Regions from separate parts of the Homo sapiens genome. Here regions 2, 3, 4, 5, 6 and 7 are each linked to region 1. Evidence: promoter capture Hi-C in 16 types of primary human blood cells and fetal thymus (Javierre and others, 2016). All regions are on one chromosome and are shown on one strand. Each heading gives the region's core, a stretch centred on a gene start or on the middle of the fragment in contact. The rest is flanking DNA. Distances are from core to core; before and after follow the strand shown.

The links. The method cuts DNA at HindIII sites, captures the fragments that hold promoters and counts their contacts. A CHiCAGO score of 5 or more calls a contact.
Region 2: a contact is called between a fragment that was not itself captured here and the fragment with the promoter of FLJ46875 in region 1, in 2 of 17 cell types (erythroblasts and naive B cells). The highest score is 7.4, in erythroblasts.
Region 3: a contact is called between a fragment that was not itself captured here and the fragment with the promoter of FLJ46875 in region 1, in 1 of 17 cell types (erythroblasts). The highest score is 6.7, in erythroblasts.
Region 4: a fragment that was not itself captured here is called in contact with the fragment with the promoter of FLJ46875 in region 1 in 1 of 17 cell types (erythroblasts); the score reaches 22.0 in erythroblasts.
Region 5: a contact is called between a fragment that was not itself captured here and the fragment with the promoter of FLJ46875 in region 1, in 1 of 17 cell types (erythroblasts). The highest score is 7.9, in erythroblasts.
Region 6: a fragment that was not itself captured here is called in contact with the fragment with the promoter of FLJ46875 in region 1 in 1 of 17 cell types (erythroblasts); the score reaches 6.6 in erythroblasts.
Region 7: a contact is called between a fragment that was not itself captured here and the fragment with the promoter of FLJ46875 in region 1, in 2 of 17 cell types (endothelial precursors and M1 macrophages). The highest score is 8.0, in endothelial precursors.

Annotation. Positions count from the first base shown.
Region 1 is chr2:156,340,486-156,343,790 of GRCh38, forward strand. It overlaps FLJ46875 (a long non-coding RNA gene), which reads right to left and starts at 1,635. Exons shown (of 1, transcript NR_147695.1): 1 at 1-1,635. RefSeq lists enhancers at 540-1,095, 1,096-1,649, 2,857-2,916 and silencers at 1,197-1,296, 1,837-2,446. The HindIII fragment of the contact is 3,407 bases long and covers 940-3,305 here.
Region 2 is chr2:157,302,181-157,305,485 of GRCh38, forward strand. All of the region lies in intron 7 of GALNT5 (polypeptide N-acetylgalactosaminyltransferase 5), which reads left to right. Among named protein-coding and RNA genes, the nearest start is that of ERMN, 22 kb to the right of the region's middle. RefSeq lists a silencer at 430-509. The HindIII fragment of the contact is 2,838 bases long and covers 483-3,305 here.
Region 3 is chr2:157,276,628-157,279,932 of GRCh38, forward strand. All of the region lies in intron 1 of GALNT5 (polypeptide N-acetylgalactosaminyltransferase 5), which reads left to right. Among named protein-coding and RNA genes, the nearest start is that of GALNT5, 21 kb to the left of the region's middle. The HindIII fragment of the contact is 534 bases long and covers 1,454-1,987 here.
Region 4 is chr2:157,260,351-157,263,655 of GRCh38, forward strand. All of the region lies in intron 1 of GALNT5 (polypeptide N-acetylgalactosaminyltransferase 5), which reads left to right. Among named protein-coding and RNA genes, the nearest start is that of GALNT5, 4.3 kb to the left of the region's middle. The HindIII fragment of the contact is 2,845 bases long and covers 385-3,229 here.
Region 5 is chr2:157,243,644-157,246,948 of GRCh38, forward strand. No RefSeq gene overlaps it. Among named protein-coding and RNA genes, the nearest start is that of GALNT5, 12 kb to the right of the region's middle. RefSeq lists an enhancer at 2,318-3,305 and a silencer at 2,892-2,981. The HindIII fragment of the contact is 2,511 bases long and covers 417-2,927 here.
Region 6 is chr2:157,224,183-157,227,487 of GRCh38, forward strand. No RefSeq gene overlaps it. Among named protein-coding and RNA genes, the nearest start is that of GALNT5, 32 kb to the right of the region's middle. The HindIII fragment of the contact is 439 bases long and covers 1,616-2,054 here.
Region 7 is chr2:157,177,976-157,181,280 of GRCh38, forward strand. No RefSeq gene overlaps it. Among named protein-coding and RNA genes, the nearest start is that of GALNT5, 78 kb to the right of the region's middle. The HindIII fragment of the contact is 1,522 bases long and covers 723-2,244 here.

The DNA.
Region 1 (3,305 bases), core at 385-2,884:
CAACTTAAGTATGCTGTCACTGACATGTTGGGAGGAAAAAGCAAACTACCAGTACCACCATGTACATGATTCAAATTAAGCTACATAAATAGTGAGTGCATGGGGTTGTGGGTACAGAAACTGGTTCGCTGAGGAGGTGCTACTTACATTTCCTGTATTTCATATTTCTGAGAACTGTCTTCTGTAATTTCCAAAGTGTAGGAATGGTTGAAGTTTGAAAATAAATGGAGAATTTCAAATAGTTAATGAATAGATTTAGGAGCTATACTGAAACAACTAGCAGAAAATACATTTTCTGGAGTTCTTTAATTTTGTACGCTTAAAAGTATGGTGTTCCTAAAGATGGCTAATTCTTGTTGAAGTAAGTAGCTCTGGAAGTCATATTTTCCATTTCTCCATACTTCATCTATTAATCAGTTGACTGGCAATTTCCGACACCAGTTTTGCTAAACTTTATAAATTTTGCTTCCTCCAGAGGTAGGAGGGGGAAGGAGATGGGCAATACAGAAACAGATTTTACAGCCAGAATATGACAGGGCCCCTTAAACTACAAATAGATGTAGAATTTTAAATGTAGCTCTGTAGTTCAATTTATACCACAGAAATTGCGAGATGCTATCTTCCTGTTGTTATAACGTATCAGGTCAAGGGATATAAATTGTACCAGGTAATTCATTTTGCTGTTCAGAGAGTCATTAAGTTCCTCCCAGAATATATGTGATTGATATCCCTGGAGGTGAAAGGCTAAAGGAACCATATGGCAACATGTTGCATTCCGTATGCTATCTGCCCATCCGTGCTTAAGCTGTCATTAGCAACATCTGTACCTTACGGAAATCCAGCTGCGCCGACGACGGCTGACGGAATTGTACTTGGGGGGAAAATCTAGCTTAGCGCCATTAACTTGAGACTTAGAGTCTATCTACCAGGACGGATGGAAGCTTTCACAATTAGACGAGACGACACGAATGCTTTATTAAAGTTTAATTTTGAACTCCCAATTAGCGAAAGTGCATTACAAATCGATTGCAATTTCCTAGAAGGTGCAGCAAGTTCTCTGCCTGCCTGCCACGTGCGAGACGCTCCACAGCGAGCTTCCCCAGCTCCGGGCAGCAGAAAGGGGATGGTTCAGAGCCGATCTCCGCATCCCAGGAAGTCCCTAAAATCCGCGCCAGCCCCTCCTCCCGCAGGGCGGGGGCGTCCACGGCGCGAACCCGCCAGAGGTGTAGGGGGAAGTGTGGGGGGCTGGTCCGCAGCCTTCGAGGGGTGGGGCGACAGGAGCGAGCGGCCGGGGGAGGAGAAAAAGGCGGGCGGCGGGAGAGGGGGCCTCTATTATCTCGGCTTCTCGGGAGGAGCCTCATCTAGTCAGTCACGCAGAAGTTTCTCTTTCGCTCTTCGCGCTACACACCCAGATTGGCTTCCAGCGCGCAGGCGAGTGGGGCGAAGGAGGGGGGACAGGAGTCCCGGAAGGGCCGTCCGGCGTTCACACCCACCCCTGTTCCGCTCCTCCCGCCCCAAACAAAGTCCCCCGACTCTAGGTCCAGGATACGTTACCTGCCCGGCGCTCCCGGCCCCTCGGTCACCGCATCCCCCGCTGGGCGCGCCTGGTACGGGTCCCGCTCCCCGGGGCTCACAAAGTGGTCGCCCCTGGCTGGGCGGCTGGGTAGATGCCCCTCTCTGGACATGTTGGGGCGGTTTTTGGGGTGGAGGGAACGCGGGAAGTGAAAGCGGAGGCTGGGACAAGGGGAACTTACTGATAAAATGGAAAAAAAAAAAGCCCACAGGGCCCAGGTCCTGGCCGGGGGCGAAAGAGGCCTGTTACCTTTCGGGGGGTCGCGGCCGACCAAGAAGGGAGCCGGGGAGTCGCCCGCCCCCCTCCCCCGGCCCCCGGCCCCCGGCCCCCGGCGGCTGCGGCAGCTGCACACAGAAGCCCATTGTCGCCGGCGTCCGGCGCGCAGCCCCGCGGACTCGGCCCCGCGGCCAAGCGCGTCAGCGGCCCCGTCAGCCGGGCCGGGCTCCGTGACGCGCGCGCAGCCCGCGCTATAAATAACCTGCCGCCGGGCGGCTCGGGCGGCTTTCCAGTGACGCTGGGGCGGAGGCGCGGTAGGAGGAGGGCGAAAGGAAACAATAAAACCGCCCGGCAGCCTCCCAAGTCTCCCTCCTCCCTTCCCAGGCCGCCCGCGGCCCTTCGCGTCGAGCTCCTTTTTCCCCGCCCCGGCCCGCCCTGCGGGGAGCGCGGTTCGCGGGTGGGAAGGAGCCCGGCGTGCTGGCGTCCCCGAGTGCTGCCGGGGCCCCGGGGCGGGAGGGGGTTTTTCCCGCACCCTGGGATGGCGAGGAGGGAACTTGGCGACAAGTTTAGTGAGGGGATCGCTGTGTTCCTTTCTAGTCCAGTTAAAATGACCCGAGCTTTTCCCGCTCCCTCACACACCTATTCTAGTACAGGTCGGATGTGTTTTTGGGGTAGTAAGTCCTCAACCGAAAACAAAAGCGAAAAACCTGTCGTCTTCAACGTAAGCATTATCTAGGTTTTTGTGGGGCCAGGCTTGCATTAGTGTTTTCATTCGGGGGGTTGTATTATAGAAAGGGTGCCCCGTAGTAGCAGCGTGAGGAAGGGTTCCAGGACCCAGGCTGTCAGCTCCGGTGCATTTACAGGTCTTTTTGCCGTAGAATTTAGCATAGGCCTGAAACATGGCATAAATGAACTTTCTAAAAGTCTATAATCTCAACGTTAAAGAGCTTACTTTTTAACTCTGGACTTTAATAAAGGCTCCCACTTTAAAAGGGGCTTTCTCTATAGGAAAGTATTAATATTTTTGTGGAGACTCTCACTGCTACCTTCCATACTCAGGCAATTCTGTCACACACCCTGACACTTGTCCTACTCATTAAGGTACCCACATACAACTGGAGGTAATCTGTTTTCTTGGACCAACAATTAATAGACTATAAAACTGTATTTCGTCTTGAGCAAAATGTCTCAGCTATGAACATGTTTTCTGAGGTTCTGATATAGACATAGATAAAAATTTGCAGATGCAAGCAAGGTGTTGCAGTGACTTGGCATGGTTAGAGTGAGTTACTAGTGTTGGGGGAAATGGTTCTTAGTTCACTAGTGAGGCAAAGTGGTATAGTAGAAGGTTCTCTGAGCTGGGGTTTAGAAGATAAAGAAATTTGAGTTTTAATTATGTCTTCACTGTACTTTTCTGTGCCACCTTGCAGAAACCACGGCCTTTCTCTGCCGCACTTTCTTCATTAACATTAAGGACTGATAGTTCCTTTTCTACCCTTACATTCTAGGATGTTAA
Region 2 (3,305 bases), core at 652-3,151, 960 kb after region 1:
CGCCCTTTTAGGCCAAATTTTTTCAGTTCTTCTTGAGAGTGGATTATACCATGCTTTCTGTCTGGAAAATCTCCTGATAGCAAAAACTTACTATAATATTCCCCCTTGAAAGTATTCGGGAAATCCAGGAAAGCTATGAAAGACAAGAAACTAGTCTTAAAAAAATGGTTCTGTTTTTTACAAAATTCAACTGATAAATAAGTTTATGTGACCTGTTTTTAGATAACGCACTGTATTATAAAATTGCCATTTTTATGGGTCCAAATAGAATGGCAGCTACTTTAAGTGGCTCAACCTGGTAACTTATCAGACATTTTGGATTTATATACACTGTTCAAATAACAACATGTCAAATATAACTGTAAAATAAATTTACAATTTTTAATTTCAACCGCTGAGCAGAAAAAAAAAAAAGAAAGGAATTTCCACTATTCTAATATTTCCCATTCCAGCAACGCAGAATCTCAGTCAGAGTAATAATAAGCTTTAACCACCAGAGGGCACTAGAAAACTACCTTTGGGCTCCGCTGTTGCGCTAACCTGAGTGAGTTCCTATGAAATTTCTGGAGAGCTCTCCTAATGAAACAGCCTTCTGCTGATGCCTCCGCTATACTATATCAAAATGCACCAAGTATTTTAAAAAGTGATTTTAACAAATTCCTTCTATTTTCCTTTGTTGTCTTCCTTAAACAAATTTCAGTGAAGATGTAGTTTGCTCCCTTCTGAAGCAAACCAGCAGGGAGCGTTATTAACATTTTTAAAAAATTAGGACCTTTCTCCAGGTAATTTACAACAAATTAAGTAGATCATTATTTTAGATAGACAATCGTGGAAAGTTCCAAGAAAATAAACTCCACAACTTCTTTTTGTTACTTGCTTCGTTTCCCTTCTTTCAACCTCCACTACGGAATTTAGATCCAGTGAAAGTTTTGTGTTTTGTAATAAGAACAAACATTTTCTTATCGAACCAACAATATTTGAAGCTAATAATCTCACCAATAATGTATTTTTCACTGGATTAAACTGCTGGCAAACAGTCTATAGCTCCGTTTCCCTTTTTTCAACCTCCACAAGCAGAAATTTAAATCCAGTGAAAGTTTTGGTTTTTTGTAATAAGAAGAAATATTTTCTTATTGAAACGACAACATTTGAAGCTAATGAAAGAATCTCACCAATAATGTATTTTTACACTGGATTAAACCGCTGGCAAATAGCCTAATGTTTAACAATTCTGTCATAAATTGTGCGGAATGTCTACTTCCTAAATTGGAAAATGAAATAATACAACATGGATAATTTAAAATTCATACACTGCCTATTTTTTTTAAAGATTAAAATGGTTTACAGTAAAAACATGGATCAATTATTTTTAAATAAAAAGGAAAATTCTGAAAACAACTAATAATGAAATGAAGAATAACAATTCCAAAACACTTCAGAGATGATGTCTATATGAAGAAAAGTATTAGGTTGGTGTAAAAGTACCTTCCATGGCAAAAACCTCAATTAAATAGTTTCCTCAGTAATTTCTAAGAAAAAGGAAAAAAAAATCTTCAGGTCAAATGAGGGAGGGACATGTAAGGGACAGAAAAGTTTTATCTTTCCTTCCAATGCTTTTCGGTTCTTGGAAGGATTATACAAAATAGACACAAATAGTTAAACAGGGGGTTCCCAAACACTGTCCTGACCAATGTTACTTGTGCTGTCTCAGGGTTCCATGGTCAAGCACATTTGAGAAACATTTGTACAACATTCTGACAGCAAGCTGAACATTAACACCCTGAAGATTTTGAGAAGTTCTGGAGTAGAACCACCTGTTCGGCTCTGTGGAAACCAGAATTTTCCAAATTTGTTTGAAGATAGAATATTTCTGCATGATCCACAAATACAGGAGCTTACATAATATTTATCTCTGCTTCAGTACAGAGAGCAATTGCAGCATGCTTTCCTTCCTTTAAGCCCCGAGATTATTCTACCTTCATGTCTTTCTATTCACCTTCCTCTCTGAAGTTCAGGGGTGGGACTGTGGGGGCATTGAATCCTTCTGTGCCTTGTGATGCCCACATTTACTAACAGTGAGCTGTCTCCTCCCATATTTGTCATTTTAAATTGCTAATAGAGCTTTCTCTGAGGATTTTTGATAGAGATTCCATCCTTCCATAGTTGCTTTGTTTCTGCCTGTGCCAGGCACCTCAGAAGTAATTAACAACCTGGTACTATTTTTAATGTTTGTTTCTATGCCTTGAAAGTCTGTGATGGTTCCTATCCAAGGCAGGTGGTGTAAATATTCATCTCAAATCCAAATGAAGCCTGGTGTAAAGTTTCAGATTCTCAGGGACAATCCAGCTTCCTTGTTTTCTCCCTTTGCTAATGGGCAAATTGTTTTTCCCAGTGCAGCATTCAACTGAAGATCTGTTTTTCCGCTGTTATGTGGAAGACCTGAATTCCAGATTTTTGGTTTACACATACCTCTGTTTTTCTTCCATCCATATGAGGGAACAAGTCTTTCTTGCCAACCTTTGCAAGTTTCCCTGTAGCCTTTAATTTTTTCCGCATATTCTGATCCCTGAAGATGTCCCTTACTTTCTTGTTCACTAAGCTAAGCATGTAAAATTGAGGACCAATGTACTGAGCCCCCTTTTATGAAGTCTGGCAATTCTGTGAGCATCCAGTCTGCATCAGTGCAGCACCCTGAGTTAGAGCTCTTTGTTAGGCATCATAGAACAGGAAGGACACAAATAGTGTCCCTGGCAACAAAGACTTCAGCTCCTCCCAGCTCAGGAGGCTTTCCCAGGACATGTCCTATAGATTCGGCTCTGCACAGCTGTTCGAGAAATCTGAAAACCCTAAGTTGCACTGTTAACCCATCATCTTGTTAGCCCTGCCCAGGATGTCAAAGGGGGAAAGGAAATCAACATTTTTCTGCATTAAATGGTGACTTAAAGAAAGCTACCTCCATATTTGACCCTGTAAATCCATTAAAAACCTGGGGGCCTGCCAGAAAGTGCCTTTATGCTTGGCTCTGTATTAGCTTTCGTGACTTTCCTATAATGAATTGTAGCTTGCTTGGGTCATTAAGAAGATTCTGACAGGGAATCAGCTGGAATCTGCTGTTCTTTGAAGGACTCAATTTATCTATGATTCAGTGCTTAAGCAGTCAAAAGGCTTGAAGGGGTCAGTCAGGGAACATAGCTCATAACTCTTATAGGTGCATTGACTTTTAGTATATGCATTAGATAAACTTAAGACAAGAAAATAATTACTTTTCTTGCCACCTTTGCTCATTTGTTATTTAGCATTCCAGG
Region 3 (3,305 bases), core at 471-2,970, 940 kb after region 1:
TTCTCTGATGGTAGTTTGTATTTCTGTGGGATCAGTGATGATATCCCCTTTATCATTTTTTATTGCATCTATTTGATTCTTCTCTCTTTTCTTATTAGTCTTGTTAGCGGTCTATCAATTTTGTTGATCTTTTCAAAAAACTAGCTCCTGGATTCACTGATTTTTTGAAGGGTTTTTTGTGTCTCTATCTCCTTCAGTTCTGCTCTGATCTTAGTTATTTCTTGCCTTCTGCTAGCTTTTGAATGTGTAAGCTCTTGCTTGTCTAGTTCTTTTAATTTGTGATGTTAGGGTGTCAATTTTAGATCTTTCCTGCTTTCTTTTGTGGGCATTTAGTGCTATAAATTTCCCTCTACACACTGCTTTAAATGTGTCCCAGAGATTCTGGTATGTTGTGTCTTTGTTCTCGTTGGTTTCAAAGAACATCTTTATTTCTGCCTTCATTTCGTTATTTACTCAGTGGTCATTCAGGAGCAGGTTGTTCAGTCTCCATGTAGTTGTGCAGTTTTGAGTAAATTTCTTAATCCTGAGTTCTAATTTGATTGCACTGTGTTCTGAGAGACAGTTTGTTGTGATTTCTGTTATTTTACATTTGCTGAGGAATGCTTTACTTCCAATTATGTGATCAATTTTAGAATAAGTGCGATGTGGTGCTAAGAAGAATATATATTGTTGATTTGGGGTGGAGAGTTCTGTAGATGTCTATTAGGTCTGCTTGGTGCAGAGCTGAGTTCAAGTCCTGGATATCCCTGTTAACCTTCTGTCTCATTGATCTGTCTAATATTGACAGTGGGGCATTAAAGTCTCCCATTATTATTGTGTGGGAGTCTAAGTCTCTTTGTAGATCTCTAAGGATTTGCTTTATGAATCTGGGTGCTCCTGTATTGGGTGCATATATATTTAGGATAGTTAGCTCTTCTTGTTCAACTGATCCCTTTACCATTATGTAATGGCCTTCTTTGTCTCTTTTGATCTTTGTTGGTTTGAAGTCTGTTTTATCAGAGACTAAGATTGCAACCCCTGTTCTTTTTTTGCTTTCCATTTGCCTGGTAGATCCTCCTCCATCCCTTTATTTTGAGCCTATGTGTGTCTCTGCACATGAGATGGGTCTCCTGAATACAGCACACTGATGCGTCTTGACTGTTTATCCAATTTGCCAGACTGTGTCTTTTAATTAGGGCATTTAGCCCATTTACATTTAAGATTGATATTGTTATGTTTGAATTTGATCCTTTCATTATGATGTTAGCTGGTTAGTTTGCCCATTAATTGATGCAGTTTCTTCATAGCATCGATGGTCTTTACAATTTGGTCTGTTTTTGCAGTGGCTGGTACCAGTTGTTTCTTTCCATGTTTAGTGCTTCCTTCAGGAGCTCTTGTAAGGCAGGCCTGGTGGTGACAAAATCTCTCAGCATTTGCTTGTCTATAAAGGATTTTATTTTTCCTTCACTCATGAAGCTTAGTTTGGCTGGATATGAAATTCTGGGTTGAAAGTTCTTTTCTTTAAGAATGTTGAATTTTGGCCCTCACTCTCGTCTGGCTTGTAGAGTTTCTGCCGAGAGATCCACCATTAGTCTGATCGGCTTCCCTTTGTGGGTAAGCCAACCTTTCTATCTGGCTGTCCTTAACATTTTTCCCTTCATTTCAACTTTGGTGAATCTGAAAATTATGTGTCTTGGAGTTGCTCTTCTCATGGAGTATCTTTGTGGTGTTCTCTGTATTTCCTGAATTTGAATGTTGGCTAGGTTGGGGACATTCTCCTGGATAATATCCTGAAGTGTGTTTTCCAACTTGGTTCCATTCTCCCCATCACTTTCAGGTACACTAATCAAACATAGATTTGGTCTTTTCACATAGTCCCATATTTCTTGGAGGCTTTGTTCATTTCTTTTTCCTCTTTTTCCTCTAAACTTGTCTTCTCACCCCATTTCATTAATTTGATCTTCAATCACTGATACCCTTTCTTCCACTTGATTAAATCGGCTATTGAAGCTTGTGCATGCATCACGAAGTTCTCTTGCCATGGTTTTCAGCTCCATCAGGCCATTTCAGGTCTTCTCTACACTGTTTATTCTAGTTAGCCATTCGTCTAGTGTTTTTTCAAGGTTTTTAGCTTCCTTTTGATGGGTTTAAACATGCTCCTTTAGCTCAGAGAAGTTTGTTATTACCGACCTTCTGAAGCCTACTTCTATCAATTTGTCAAAGTCATTCTCCATCCAGCTTTGTTCCATCGCTGGCTAGGAGCTGCAATCCTTTGGAGGAGAAGAGGTGCTCTGGTTTTTAGGATTTTCAGCTTTTCTGCCCTGGTTTCTCCCCATCTTTGTGGTTTTATCTACCTTTGGTCTTTGATGCTGGTGACCTACAGATGGGGTTTTGATGTAGATGTCCTTTTTGTTGATGTTGATGCTATTCCTTTCTGTTTGTTAGTTTTCCTTCTAACAGTCAGGACCCTCAGCTGCAGATCTGTTGGAGTTTGCTGGAGGTCCACTCCAGACCCTGTTTACCTGGGTATCACCAGTGGAGGCTGCAGAACAGCAAATATTGCTGCCTGATCCTTCCTCTGCCTGAAGCTTCGTCCCAGAGGGGCACCCGCCTATATGAGGTGTCTGTCAGCCCCTACTGGGAGGTGTCTCCCAGTTAGGCTACACAGGGGTCAGGGACCCACTTGAGGAGGCAGTCTGTCCATTCTCAGAGCTCAAACGCCGTGCTGGGAGAACCACTGCTCTTTTCAGAGCGGTCAGACAGGGACATTTAAATCTGCAGAAGTTGTCTGCTGCCTTTTGTTCAGCTATGCCCTACTCACAGAGGTGGAGTCTACAGAGGCAGTAGGCCTTGCTGAGCTGCGGTGGGCTCCACCCAGTTTGAGCTGCTTTGTTTACCTACTCAAGCCTCAGCAATGGTGGACGTCCCTCCCCGAGCCAGGCTGCCGCCTCCCAGTTTGATCTCAGACTGCTGTGCTAGCAGTGAGCAAGGTTCCATGGGTGTGGGACCTGCCAAGCCAGGCACAGGAAAGAATCTCTGGGTCTGCCAGTTGCTGAGACTGTGGGAAAAGCACAGTATTTGGGCAGAAGTGTCCCATTTTTTCAGGTGCAATCTGTCACAGCTTCCCTTGGCTAAGAAAGGGAAATCCCCAGACCTTTTGCGCTTCCTGGGTGAGGTGATGCCCCAACCTGCTTTGGCTCACCCTCTGTGGGCTGCACCCACTGTCCAACCACTCTCAATGAGATGAACCAGGTACCTCAGTTGGAAATGCAGAAATAACCCGTCTTCTGTGTCAATCACGCTGGGAGCTGCAGATCGGAGCTGTT
Region 4 (3,305 bases), core at 557-3,056, 920 kb after region 1:
ATGCAGTTCTAAAGCTGCCCAATGGGCCTTCAGTAACCAGTCCTTCAAAAAGTTAAATTCCTATAACTATATCACCAGATGTGGATCAAAACATAGATATTTAATCTGATTCAAATATAATTGGGTTCCTGGCATTTTTTTTCTTGGCCCACTGATAAGTGAAGGTACTCAACAGCCGTATGTTCAATATCTGTTAACTCAGTTCCCTAAGTCAAACAATATTTGCCAGGAAGTTGGATTGGGGAATGTCAAGATTGAGACTTAGCACATGTGGCATGTAAACAATGGCCTTGTTTGGCTTCTGTAGAAAATTCTTCTTTGTGATCTAGGTAGTCAGCATTACATTTTAGTCAGTGTTACTAGGAGGAAGGCAGATACAGGAGAAGCTTTATCCACATTAGAAAGAAGAGTCTCTTCATTGTGATGTCGGCTACAACCAGGTCGTTTTCCATCTCTTAGCCATCAGCAAACAGCTATCAGCCATGCACTGCTTATACCAAGCACTGTGCCATTCACGCTTCTCACCCTGGTGATAATCACAGTCTTGAGGAGAATGCAGACATACTCAAAGATGAGGAAACTGAGGCCCTGGGATGCTAGATTGCCTGTGGTCACAAAGCTAGTCATTGTAGAGAAATGATTAAAATTCATGCTCAAAATTATTCTGCACTCTCTTCCATCTCTTGCCAATCTCCCCTCAAAAAGGATCCTAAAAATTGTGTTGGCCCAGCTCTAATCTAAAGTCCTGTGTATCACAGGATTACACATGCCAGCTTTGAACACAAAGTGCAAGGAAATGAAGTAGCCGTTAAAGCAGTTTCATTTTAACATGCCCTTATTGACCTGGCAGGCTGCTAGGGAGTCTGGGGAGGAATTAGACACTGCACAGAAGCACAAGCTCCAGTTCCAAACCAGAGAAAAGGCACATGCGTGGCGGGGGTGGGGGTGCTCAAAGCAAGTAATAACGATGTTATCACTAGTGTGGCTCATTGAAAGCTCGGGGACTCCCAGTGCTTCTTAGTTTCTATACTTTGTTCTGTAGAAGTTAAGCATTGCAGCCCAGGAAAGTTACAGTCAGGCTCTGTCTTCTGAAGGAGGTTGTCCCAACTGTAGGAAAAATTGACACATGTGCTTGAGAGGATGAGTCAGAGAGCATGTGGCCAGGCCTCCTCCCTCTTATCACATAACCCACCTTGGCTAAATATAGGTGTGTCTCAAGCTGCCTGGCGGATGCTACGCTCCACTCAGGGGTCTACCACCAGGGATCCTGGACCTGGGGCCTCCCAAAGTATTTTTCAGTCCTTTTGTAGTCCTCTTCTTTGAAAGAGGATAAATCATTTTTTGTTCTTTTACCCAAACACCTTGACTATAAATATGTGTAAATTATGTATTCATATAGATAAAGGTTAAAGAAAATACAATCAAAAAACATTTGATTCATCAGTTTGGCAAGATTTGGAGTGTTTTTTGTTTTTGTTTTTTTAAATTTGGCTTTATTTATTTTCAGCCTGGCTCAAAAAGCGTTTGAGGTAGCTGCTTACAGGAATGCATGCAATAAGATTTTTTAAGATAATAAGTTTTCGAAGTCAGCATAAGGGGAAATTGTTATAAAATAGAATAAGAAAATGAGTACATGTGTGTGAAAGAAAGAGAGAGAGAAATAACTGTAAGAATACAGGAGGGCTAGCTTAAAATTAGCTGGAGTAGCATCCTACTGCAACCTTTAAATTTTAAGAGTTTTGGAGAATATCTTCCTTTTTGGCCTATTCATTTCCCCAAAATCCACTGTTATAGATGAATTCACACATAACTGTCATATCACAACTGCTCATTGATACAGAATGAACCAAAAAATGTAAAAAAAAAAAAAAAAAAGCGCACAGATTTGGTATAATCATTTAAATTCAACTTCACCCAGTGAAGATAATAACTAGTCGGTAGTTAACATCATCTTAAAGATGAATGAGCTGATGTGCTAGGGTGAGGTTACCATTAAGAAGTAGAGGACAGGCATGGTAGCTCAAGCCTGTAATCTCAGCACTTTGGGAGGACATGGTTAGAGGATCCCTTGAGCCCAGGAGTTTGAGATCAGCCTGGGCAATATAGTGAGACCTCATCATTACAAAAAAATTTAAAAATTACCCAAGGGTGGTGGTGCATGCCTGTAGTCTCAGCCACTCAGGAAGCTGAGGTGGGAGGATCACTTGAGCCTGAGCGGTCGAGGTTGCAGTGAACCAAGATTGTGCCACTAGCCTGGGTGACAGAATAAGACCTTGTCTCAGAAAACAACAACAACAACAACAACAACAACAATAAAAAGGTAGAGGAGACAGGCAGGGATTTCCAGGACAACTTCTCTTACTCTAGTTCTAAAATCAGATTCTCTTTTCCAAACCTGCTTTTTCACTCCGTTTTCTCTGGAGTCCCAAAGGACCATTGCTAAAATGTTAAGATTCAATTTCACAACTCTTTTTTTTTTTTTTTTTTTTTTTTTTTGAGATGGAGTCTCGCTCTGTCACCCAGGCTGAGCGCAGTGGTGCGATCTCGGCTCACTGCAAACTCCGCCTCCGGGGTTCACACCATTCTCCTGCCTCAGCCTCCCGAGTAGCTGGGACTACAGGCACCCGCCACCATGCCCAGCTAATTTTTTGTATTTTTAGTAGAGACGGGGTTTCACCGTGTTAGCCAGGATGGTCTCGATCTCCTGACCTCATGATCTGCCCGCCTTGGCCTCCCAAAATGCTGGGATTGCAGGCGTGAGCCACCGCATCCGGCCCACACCTCTTTTCTAAAGCACAAGAACTCCTTTCTGTTCTCAGGGTTACTCACACTGTCCTTTTCTGTCTGCCCATGTTTCTCCCCTTTGTGGTATAGCAATAGCACCCTGCACATGACATTTTCTCCAAGCTGGGCCCTTAGCATAAGAAAAGCTAATCTCTTTGCTCTTCTCCACCCTTTACAGTTGTAACCATCCACTGAGGTTTTCATTCACTGGTCCCTTCCCACAGCCTCCCTCCATCCTCACCATTCTCTTGCACACATTCTAATTCAATGTTGCTCAGAATCCAACTGTGGCTTCCTTCCACCTGGACCATGAGGTAGCTGTGACCTCTAAATTGCAATTACTCTTAGTGTACACAGGCATCCTAGTTACTGAAACACTGTTTATTCTGTGTTCTTCATTAACTGAATCCTTGAACGTCTGTTTTTCCTTCCTAGTGAAATTATAAGCTTCTGAAGGAAACTTTGTCTTTAGCTTTATTTTGTACTCCTTTAGCACTGATCACAGTGCTGTACATTCAGAA
Region 5 (3,305 bases), core at 422-2,921, 900 kb after region 1:
ATGTGGTATATGACTATATGTTTGCTTATGTGTGAGGAAGACAAAAAGAACAAGGCAAATTAATTTTATCTGCCAAAGCTTACGTGTGTTCATGTGATATCACAAAAGCTTCACAACATCAAGGGGTCCATAAGCTGCACTTTCTTAAGTACTGGTTCATTACTATCTAGTTCCCTAAAAAATCAGTTAAAGCATGTAGAGACTTTCATACACTCAGCACATAAGATGAGTCCAAGTAGTCCATTTCCAGCCATTTCAGAAAAATTAAAATCATAGATGACACTGTTGAATGTGTTTTATGTGTCTGTGCTTTTCTAAGCACTTGACTCATACTAATTCATTTAATTCTGACAGTAATGTGAGGTTGGTGTTCTTATTACCCTTCATATTACAGAAGAGAAAACAAACACCCAAAAAGCTTAAAGTATTTATCCAAGATCCCAAAGCTAAAAATGGCAGAACCAGGATTCAAACCCAGACAGTCTGTCTCCACAGCCTTTCCCTAGTGTTCCTCAATGGGGCCCTGTTATGTAGGGTAGTATAATACATGATTGGATGGCACTGACATGCATATTGCAGGACATAGAGCATTCCTCCCCTTTTGCCATTAATTACTACTAGCACCCACTAGGCATCGTGACAACAAGAAGTGGTACCTAACTTCCAGCATTTCCAAACATCTGAGGGTCTATTCACCTACTCACACATTCTCTCTGTTTCTATCCCACCCCTCCACACACACACAAACACATACACAATCCAGTATACATACATGCATTCACATACTCACACACAGCCAAAATTTGAAGTGAAAATTAAAAGTTAACTGAGTTCAAAGTTTTCCTTTCTCTATTCTTTTTTCTTCCTTGTTGCTTTCTTGACAAACATTGCCTTTACTCCATCCTTATATCTAGAGGGCATGGGGAGGAAGAAGAAAAGAAAAGGAAAAGATAATAGAAACACAAAAATTAAAGGTAAAGAGAAAAGGAGGAAGAATAGAAATCAAACAGAAGGCAAAAAAATAGATATCTATAGGAACTATTGAGATAGGAGTTTTCTGCTCCTAAGTCACTGAATGAAGTAAAAGCAATCAGTAAATCAAAACCATTATCTGACTTGCCTTGCCTCAAAACTCATTTATGTATTTCAGAGAACCACTGAATTTCAGAATGGAGCTGGTCCAGCTAATGCTGTAGTCCAAACCCCCACCTAATGGAAGAATACCCCCTACCGTTTCTGTGACAGATGGCCATTCATCCTCTGCCACATGTCATTTACAAGAGCAGGCATATCGTTAACTACTTTTAGAAGAAATACACGTGTCTTTTGTTTAGTACTAATTGTTAGAAAGTCATTCTCATTTAGAACAGAAATCTGCTATGCTCCAGTCTCAGTTCTCTCTTCTGGAACCATACGGAATGAGTTAAACCCTTCTTCCACAGGATATTCCTCTAAAATTTTGAAGTGGTTATTATGTTGCTCCTGAGTCTCCTCCTACCCAAAATAAACATATGCAAAACATATGATCTGCCCTCCAAAAGGTAGTATACCTGGTAGTGTATGGCCAATGTCCTCAAAAGGCCTGTTTCATTTCTTCCCGAGTAGTAAATTTTTTCTTACAGAGCTCAAAGTCAGCACCTCTGGTGTGTATTTGTGTGGGTATGCTCTGTGAACTCTACATATATACATATGTATAAATATGAATATGCACACACAAACGAAGCACACATGGAGTTTGTACATTTGTATATAAATATGTAGACACAAATGTGTATATCCATGTAAAATATGCACATTGCTCCTCTTTCCTTCTCTTTCAAGTGCTCCTTTCTTGTGTGTTTTCAGGCCAGCCCCAATACAACCAGAGCTCACCTATTTTTAGGTTTATTTCATCCCTCTGGAACTGAGTTGGGTGCTTTCAAGTTCTATGTACATTTTTTAGCTTAACCAGGAGTGGATGCTTAACAAACCCTTTTCTCCTGTGTGCCCAGCCCTGAGTATTAATCCTCAGCTTCCAAGAGTAAGAAAAACACTCAAGCACACGGCATCACAAGACCTGAATGCCTCTGAAAGTATGTGATAACAGCAACGAAGTTGAGATCCTGGAATAACCAAACCTGACATTAATCTGAACCCATTTTTCTTTTCCTCTCTTAGTTTGATTTCTAATTAGGTATTGCTTCTGCCTTTTTCTCTGTTTATCACTTACCCATTTCCTACCCTATTTTCAGAGGAGAGAAATAAAAACTTTTCTTTGATATTGAAGGAAATGTCCAAAGGGTCCTGAGTTCAAGTCTCTTTCGTTTCTCTAACTGTAGTCTGAGTTTCACACTTCACTGCCTTTGCAAGCCTCAGATGGAAAGGTTATTTCCAGGTTATGATAACATTATTGGATCCAAAGTCATTGTCATCATTTCATTCCACAGAAAGTTATTTTGCACTTTCCCCTGGGAGCAGGAATTGAATTGGTGGGGAGCAGGGCAGGGGGAGATCTGAAACAGCTTCCAGCTTTTTCAAAAAGATTTTCATTTCATCCCACTTCTTCACAGCACATGAAAAGAGCCCTCAAATGCCCTACATAGCACCTGCTGTCTGCTCCTCCCACAAGACTTCTTTTTCTACTCCTCTCTTCTTCCTTCTCTTTTCTTTGCTATAATGGAGGCCATAAAGAGGACAGGATCATTTCAGGGGGATGGATGAGAAGAGGAAGGAGAGTCAGGATCAGAGGACAGGACCCGTTCTGAGGGCATTCCCAGGGCAGCACCTGGGAGGCTGCAGGGCAGCAGTAAGTTGGATAGGGGTTGCTGCTCGGATGGAGGTTGTCAGGGCCAAGGGTAGGGGACCCAGCACTCATGTTGTTCTGCGTGACAACTTTGCTTAGGCCGAGCCCTACAGAAACTCGCTCAGGTCTTTGTTCTCTTAACTCAAGCTTTGCATATGAATCACTGAAACTTTTAAATGAGTGATTCAGAGAGCAGCTGAAGATTTAATTCAGTTTCTGCCAAAAGAGACCACGGAAGGATTTTTATATCATTACTAATAGATTTTCAAAGGGCAAAGTCCTAACATGCCTGCAGTTGTTAAAGAATGTCTCTTTCTACAAATAAAATCAACAACAAAAATCTCTAGTGCCTTCTTTTTATTCTCGCCTGTAGAATTTCTCCTAATGCTTTTAGATACGGCAATTCCACTTTCTAAAATCCTTTCATGATATCCCCTTCTTTCCACGTTTGTCAGAAATCATTACTCCATATCTGCTTCCCTGTCACCTTTTATCACTCTGTCTCAGGAATGCTGTGGGAGTG
Region 6 (3,305 bases), core at 585-3,084, 880 kb after region 1:
ACAGAACAAAATCCCATTTAACTACTGATGATGGCTTCTCCAGAATGAGGTTTTGCTGGTCATTACTATCCTGGAAAAAGTTACACAGATACTGATATTCCATTAAAAAAAAATAGACTCATTTTTTCAAATAACTATCACTATACCAATAGAATTCCACTGAAAAAGACATAAAACTTCCGGACAATTTTAAAGAAATTTGGGGTAAATTCCTCCCACAGACTATAAACTACTTCAACCATTGTGGAAGACAGTGTGGTGGTTCCTCAGGGATCTAGAACTAGAAATACCATTTGACCCAGCCATCCCATTACTGGGTATATACCCAAAGGATTATAAATCATGCTGCTATAAAGACACATGCACACGTATGTTTATTGGGGCACTATTCACAATAGCAAAGATTTGGAACCCACCCAAATGTCCAACAATGATAGACTGGATTAAGAAAATGTGGCACATATACACCATGGAATACTATGCAGCCATAAAAAATGATGAGTTCATGTCCTTTGTAGGGACATGGATGAAGCTGGAAACCATCATTCTCAGCAAACTATCGCAAGAACAAAAAAAACAAACACTGCATGTTCTCACTCATAGGTGGGAATTGAACAATGAGAACACTTGGACATAGGAAGGGGAACATCACACACTGGGGCCTGTTGTGGGGTAGGAGGATGGGGGAGGGATAGCATTAGGAGATATACCTAATGTAAATGACGAGTTGATGAGTGCAGCACACCAACATGGCACATGTATACATATGTAACAAACCTGCACGTTGTGCACATGTACCCTAGAACTTAAAGTATAATATATATATATATATATATATATATATATATATATATATATATATATATATATAAATATAAAAGCTGATCCACCATTATCAAGTAGGCTTCATCACAGGAATGCAAGATTGGTTCAACATATGCAAATCAATAAATGTGATCACCTAAATAGAACTAAAACAAACACCACATGATTATTTCAATAGATGCAGAAAAGGCTTTCAATTAAATTCAATATCCCTTCATGTTAAAAACCCTCAATAAACTGGGCATTGGAGGAACATACATCAAAATAATAAAGCCCATCTACGACAAACCCACAGTCAATATCATACTGAATGGGCAAAAGCTGAAAGCATTCCTCTTGAAAACCAGAACAAGACAAAGATGCCCTCTCTCACCACTCCTATTCAACGTAATACTGGAAGTCCCAGCCAGAGCAATCAGACAAGAGAAAAAAGAGGCATCCAAATAGGAAGAGAGGAAGTCAAACTATCACTATTTGCAGATGACATAATTCTATACCTAGAAAACCCCATAGTCTCTGCCCAAAAGCTCCTTCAGCTGATAAACAACTTCAGCAAAGTTCCAGTATACAAAATCAATGTACAAAAATTAGCAACATTCCTATACACCAACAACATCTAAGCAGAGAGGCAAATCAGGAATGCAATCCCATTCACAACTGCCACAAAAAGAATAAAATATCTAGGAATACAGATACCTAGGGAGTTGAAAGAAAAAAATAAGATTAAGAGTCACCTCTGAGTTTGAAATTTTGGATTTAGCTAGATGAGTTAGCTAACACTCATATTTGAAGCTTATTTCAGACTCTACAGTGTAGTAGATATGCAATTTATATATTTTTATCTTTTTAATTGGCCTTTTATTCAGTAATCTTGCTAAATTCACTTAAATTGTAATAATTTATTTATAGATGCCTGAGGATTTCTTAGTTATGCAGTTATATCTTCTGAAATGCAATGACAATTGTATTTTTTCCTTCCCAATTCTTGTAGTTCCTTTGTCTTGGTTGACTGTATCAGTTAGGCTCTTCAAGACAGCATTGAAGAATATGTAGTAAATTTGCAGCCATATTGTTCCATTCTTCAAATCCAGATGAAAGTTTCTGGCATTCCCCATTAAGTATTATATTTCTGGATGTTTTTGTAGATACCCATTATTAAATTAAGAACTCCCTTCTATTCACAGTTTGCTAAGATGTTTGATCATGAATGGGAATTGAATTCTAGTCTAAGCTTTTTCTGTATATATTGAGAAGACTATATGATTTTTCTTTTTTAATTTGTGAAGTCCACGGATTTTTATGATGATAAACCAATTTTGCATTCCTATAATAAGCCTAACTTAATCATGATGTATCATCCTTTTTGTGTATTGCCATTCCGGGTTTACTAATACTTTGTTTAGGGATTTTATATCTATGTTCCTGAGTAAGATTGGCTTGTCAATTTTCTTACTCAAAATATTCTTAAGAAGTTTTCATTTCAAAGTTACGCTTGCCTCATGAAACAAGTTGAGGAATGTTTTCTTTTTATTTTCTAGTAGAATTGCTCTAAATTGATGTCTTTGTTCTTGTGGAAAGAAGAGATATTGTTTGATTGGTCAGCTTAGTTTGGTTTTATTTGGGTTAATTTGTTTACTTTTTGAATTCAGAATTCAATATTTTAATAGCAAAAGATATTGATGGTTTATACTCTTATTATTTCATATTAAAATTTTATATTAACACTCTTATTTCTTATTTCCATTCTTGCATCAGTTTTGGTAAGTTTTGATTTTTTAGAAATTTCTCAATGTCACCAAAATTTTCAAATGTATTACTGTAAGTCATTCATGATATTCTCCTTCGATATTTTTTGTTTCTGAAGGGTCTATAATAATGTCATTTTTTCCATTTATTATATTTGTTATCTGTCCTCTTTTTTTCTTGATCATTTTACCAAACATTTACCCATTTTATTAGCCTTTTCAAGTTAATCTATTTTATTTGCCTGTTAGACTTCTGGCTTTGTCAATTTCTATATTTTTAAGAGAAGCATGTTTAGATTTAGCTTTTTATTGATACATAATATTTGTACATTTTGTTACATGCATAGAATATGGAATGATCAAGTCAGGGTATTTGGGCTATCCATCACCTCAAATATTTATCATTGCCATGTGTTGGGAATATGTCAAGTTCTCTCTTCCAGCTATTTTGAAATCTACAATATGTTGTTGTTAACTATAGTAAATCTACTGTACTATCAAACATTATTTCTTCTATTAATTGTATGTTTGTATGTATGTTTGTGCCCATTAAACAATTTTTATTCATTCCCCCAATGCCCCCCACCCCCCACCGCCAACACACACCCTTCCCAGCCTCTTTCTACTCTCTATCTCCATGAGTTCTATTTTTTTAACCTCTCACATTTGAGTGAGAACACATGATATTTGTTTTTCTGTGCCTTGCTTATTTCAGTTCACATAATAACCTCCAGT
Region 7 (3,305 bases), core at 234-2,733, 840 kb after region 1:
TCCTGTCTACAACTCTGAGTCATTAAAAGAAATGCTTTGGGCCAGGTGCAGTGACTCACGCCTATAATCCCAGCAGTTTCGAAGGCCAAGGTCGGAGTATCACTTTAGGCCATGAGTTCAAGACCAGCCTGGGCAACATAGTGAGATCCTGTCTCTAATAAAAATAAAAAGATTAGCCAGACATTGTGGTGCATGCCTATAGTCCTAGCTACTCGAAGGGCTAATGTGGGAAGATCCCTTCACCAGGAGTTTGACTATATCAGGTGCTTATTAAAAGTAAAATTTCTGGGCAGATCTCTGATCTAAGAAATCAGAACCTCTGGTATAAAGCTCAAGAATGACAGTTCAAACAAGACTGCAGATGATTCTAACATATACCAATGAACTCTAAACTTTGAGAATCACAAAAATTCCATCCAGTCAGATGCCCTATTCAAAAAATTCTTGAATTTTTTTCTTTTTTTTCTTTACGTACTCCCTTTTGACCCATTAAGAGTCATATCTGAGCCGGACGCGGTGGCTCACGCCTGTAATCCCAGCACTTTGGGAGGCTGAGGAGGGCGGATCACGAGGTCAAGAGATCGAGACCATTCTGGCCAACATGATGAAACCCCATCTCTACTAAAAATACAAAAATTAGCTGGGCATGGTGGTGTGCACCTGTAGTCCCAGCTACTTGGGAGGCTGAGGCAGGAGAATGGACTGAACCCGGGAGGAGGTGAAGCTTGCAGTGAGCCGAGATCGCGCCACTGCACTCCAGCCTGTGTGACAGAGCAAGACTCCGTCCAAAAAAAAAAAAAATCATATCTAGCAAAAACAAACAAACAAATAAACAACAAAAACAACGCTTACTCTTCCCATAATCTTTGATGTTAATTTGCCAGAGGGTTGAATTATTAGGTTTGTGCAAAAGTAATTGTGGTTTTTGACATGATTTTCAATGGCAAAAACTGCAATCACTTTTGCACCAACTTAATATCTATTCTTTGTAATAACCTCTTCCAGAATAGCTAAAAGGCCAGGCTCCTCTGAGCCATCCTTGAGTCAACTTAAGATGCAGACACCTTTTTCTAATTGGTGTTGCCAGCAGGGGGCACTTGTTTTGAATCTGACCCCTTGGGAAAAAGCAATTTCCCTCATTTAACCACATTTACTATATTGTGACAGTATTGCACAAATACTTTTGAATTAGTTCCTCAGGAAGGCAGTCAATGCAGAAAAAGACAAACATTCAGACCTTAAAGGTCTACATTTGCTTCTTTGAAATGTGTAATGTACACATGGGCTTTCAAAGGCATTAAAAATTTTCAAAGTCCCTACTATGATAAAATATATTCTTCCAAAATAATCACTACCATTGACACTCTTCAATTTATAAAGCACTAGTTAAAGCATTTCACAACTCCCAAGAAGTAGATGTGCATTTTAAATTGGTGACATGACTTGCCCTGAATCACGTAGCCTGTATGTAGCAGAGATGGAGATCTGTAGGTAGCCATAGGAGCTCTCCACTCAAAAGTAAGTATTTTCTCTCTAACCTCTTGTCCAGCTGCCAAGAGATTCATTGTTTCCACTATAAGAGCGTGTCCATCCCTCCCCTCAGTACCATCAGTACTGTATAAATGACTTTATGGTTTTCTCAAAAGTAAGAGTATTAATTACAACTCTCTGTCATTCAAACAAGTGGAGATTTATCACATTTTACCAAAAAGCACTTTTTAAAACAAAAATGTTTCTTGTATAGCAAAGATAAGGGCTCATCTTTGGACCCCACAAACCGCTGATATCCCCTTAAAGGCTCACTTTTCTCTTTCATTCTTGCCCCATCACCAGAGACCAGGTTTTGACTCCCAGTATCAGGAATTCTACCTCATATAATTGTGCAGTTGAGCTGTTGCACTCCACGTAAGACTTCAGCCAAGAAGACAACAGGGTAGCTGGAAGGCCAGACTTCTCTCAGCCATCCTGGAGTCAACTTAAGATGCAGACACCTTTTTCTAATTGGCATTGTCAGTGGGGGGCACTTTTTTCAAATCTGTCCCCTTGGGGAAAGCTATTTCTCTCATATGCATCAAAGCACTGTATATGCCTGTTGGCCCTACCTATATGTATCTCAGGATTAAATAAATAAATAAATAAATAAAAGCTATTGCCTTGTTTTTCCAGGAATAGTTCTGTAGTTTTTGCAGAACAAGAAGTCTGCATTCAAAGTAACATGCAGTTTCACTGTTATTGCCCTGTCCAAGCTTGTGGTGTAATTTCTTCTTCATTCACTCAGTCTCACAAAAGGGATAATGAAATCAACTTTCATCCAACTTCAGGCAATCATAAAACTCTGAGATTTACAGCTACCACTGCAAAGTCAGTGAGTATTGTAAGAGCCTTGAATTAGAACAAGTAGTAAAGAATCCATGTAAGAATAGGAAGCTCTGAGGTTGTATATACTAAGACCTTAGTGTTACCTAGACTCACCTCACAGCTTGTGGAAAAAGCTGATTCCTGGTCCTACCATAGATACTCTGACTTGGATCTGAGGAGGGCCAGCTTCATCTTGAGAATTCTATGTAGGGTAGGGCTTAGGGGAGGCCATCTGGTTGGAAGACGAAGCTGGGAGGTTTGCCATGAGGCTATGTTTGTAAAGAAAGCACACTCTTTTTAACTTAGTGTGTATGTTACAGATCAATATCAATATAAAAGTTTCCTAAACTTTTACTCACACTTTATATAAAAGTGATTACATTGGCCATATTAAAAGTAAGATTTTTATTTGGGAATGAAGGGAGCTGATGGAGACTGGGTTGGCTACTGCCCTTGGCACCACCACTGAGTTTAACCCAGATGTCTGCCTTTTTAACCATCACCATAGAAAAGCCTAGTTTATTTATTCATCCACTCAACAAAATGTTTATTGAGATACCAGTATGTGCTGGACATTGTTAGAGATATGTTCTTGGGACACAGTAATAAAAATAATGAATAATAATAACAACAAGCTCTGGGTACAGTGGCTCATGCCTGTAATCCCAGCATTTTGGGACGCCGAGGCGAGTAGATTGCTGGAGCTCAGTAGTTCCAGACCAGCCTGGGCAACATGGCAAAACCCTGTCTCTATTGAAAAAATACAAAAATTAGCTGGAGTGGTAGCATGCACCTGTAATTCCAACTACTCGTGAGGCAGAGGTGGAAGGATCGCTAGAGCCTGGGAGGCAGAGGTTGCAGTGAGCCGAGATAGCTCTCCTGCACTCCTGCTTAGGTGACAGAGCAAGACCCTGTCTCAAAAAATAAATAATAATAGTAACAGGCAA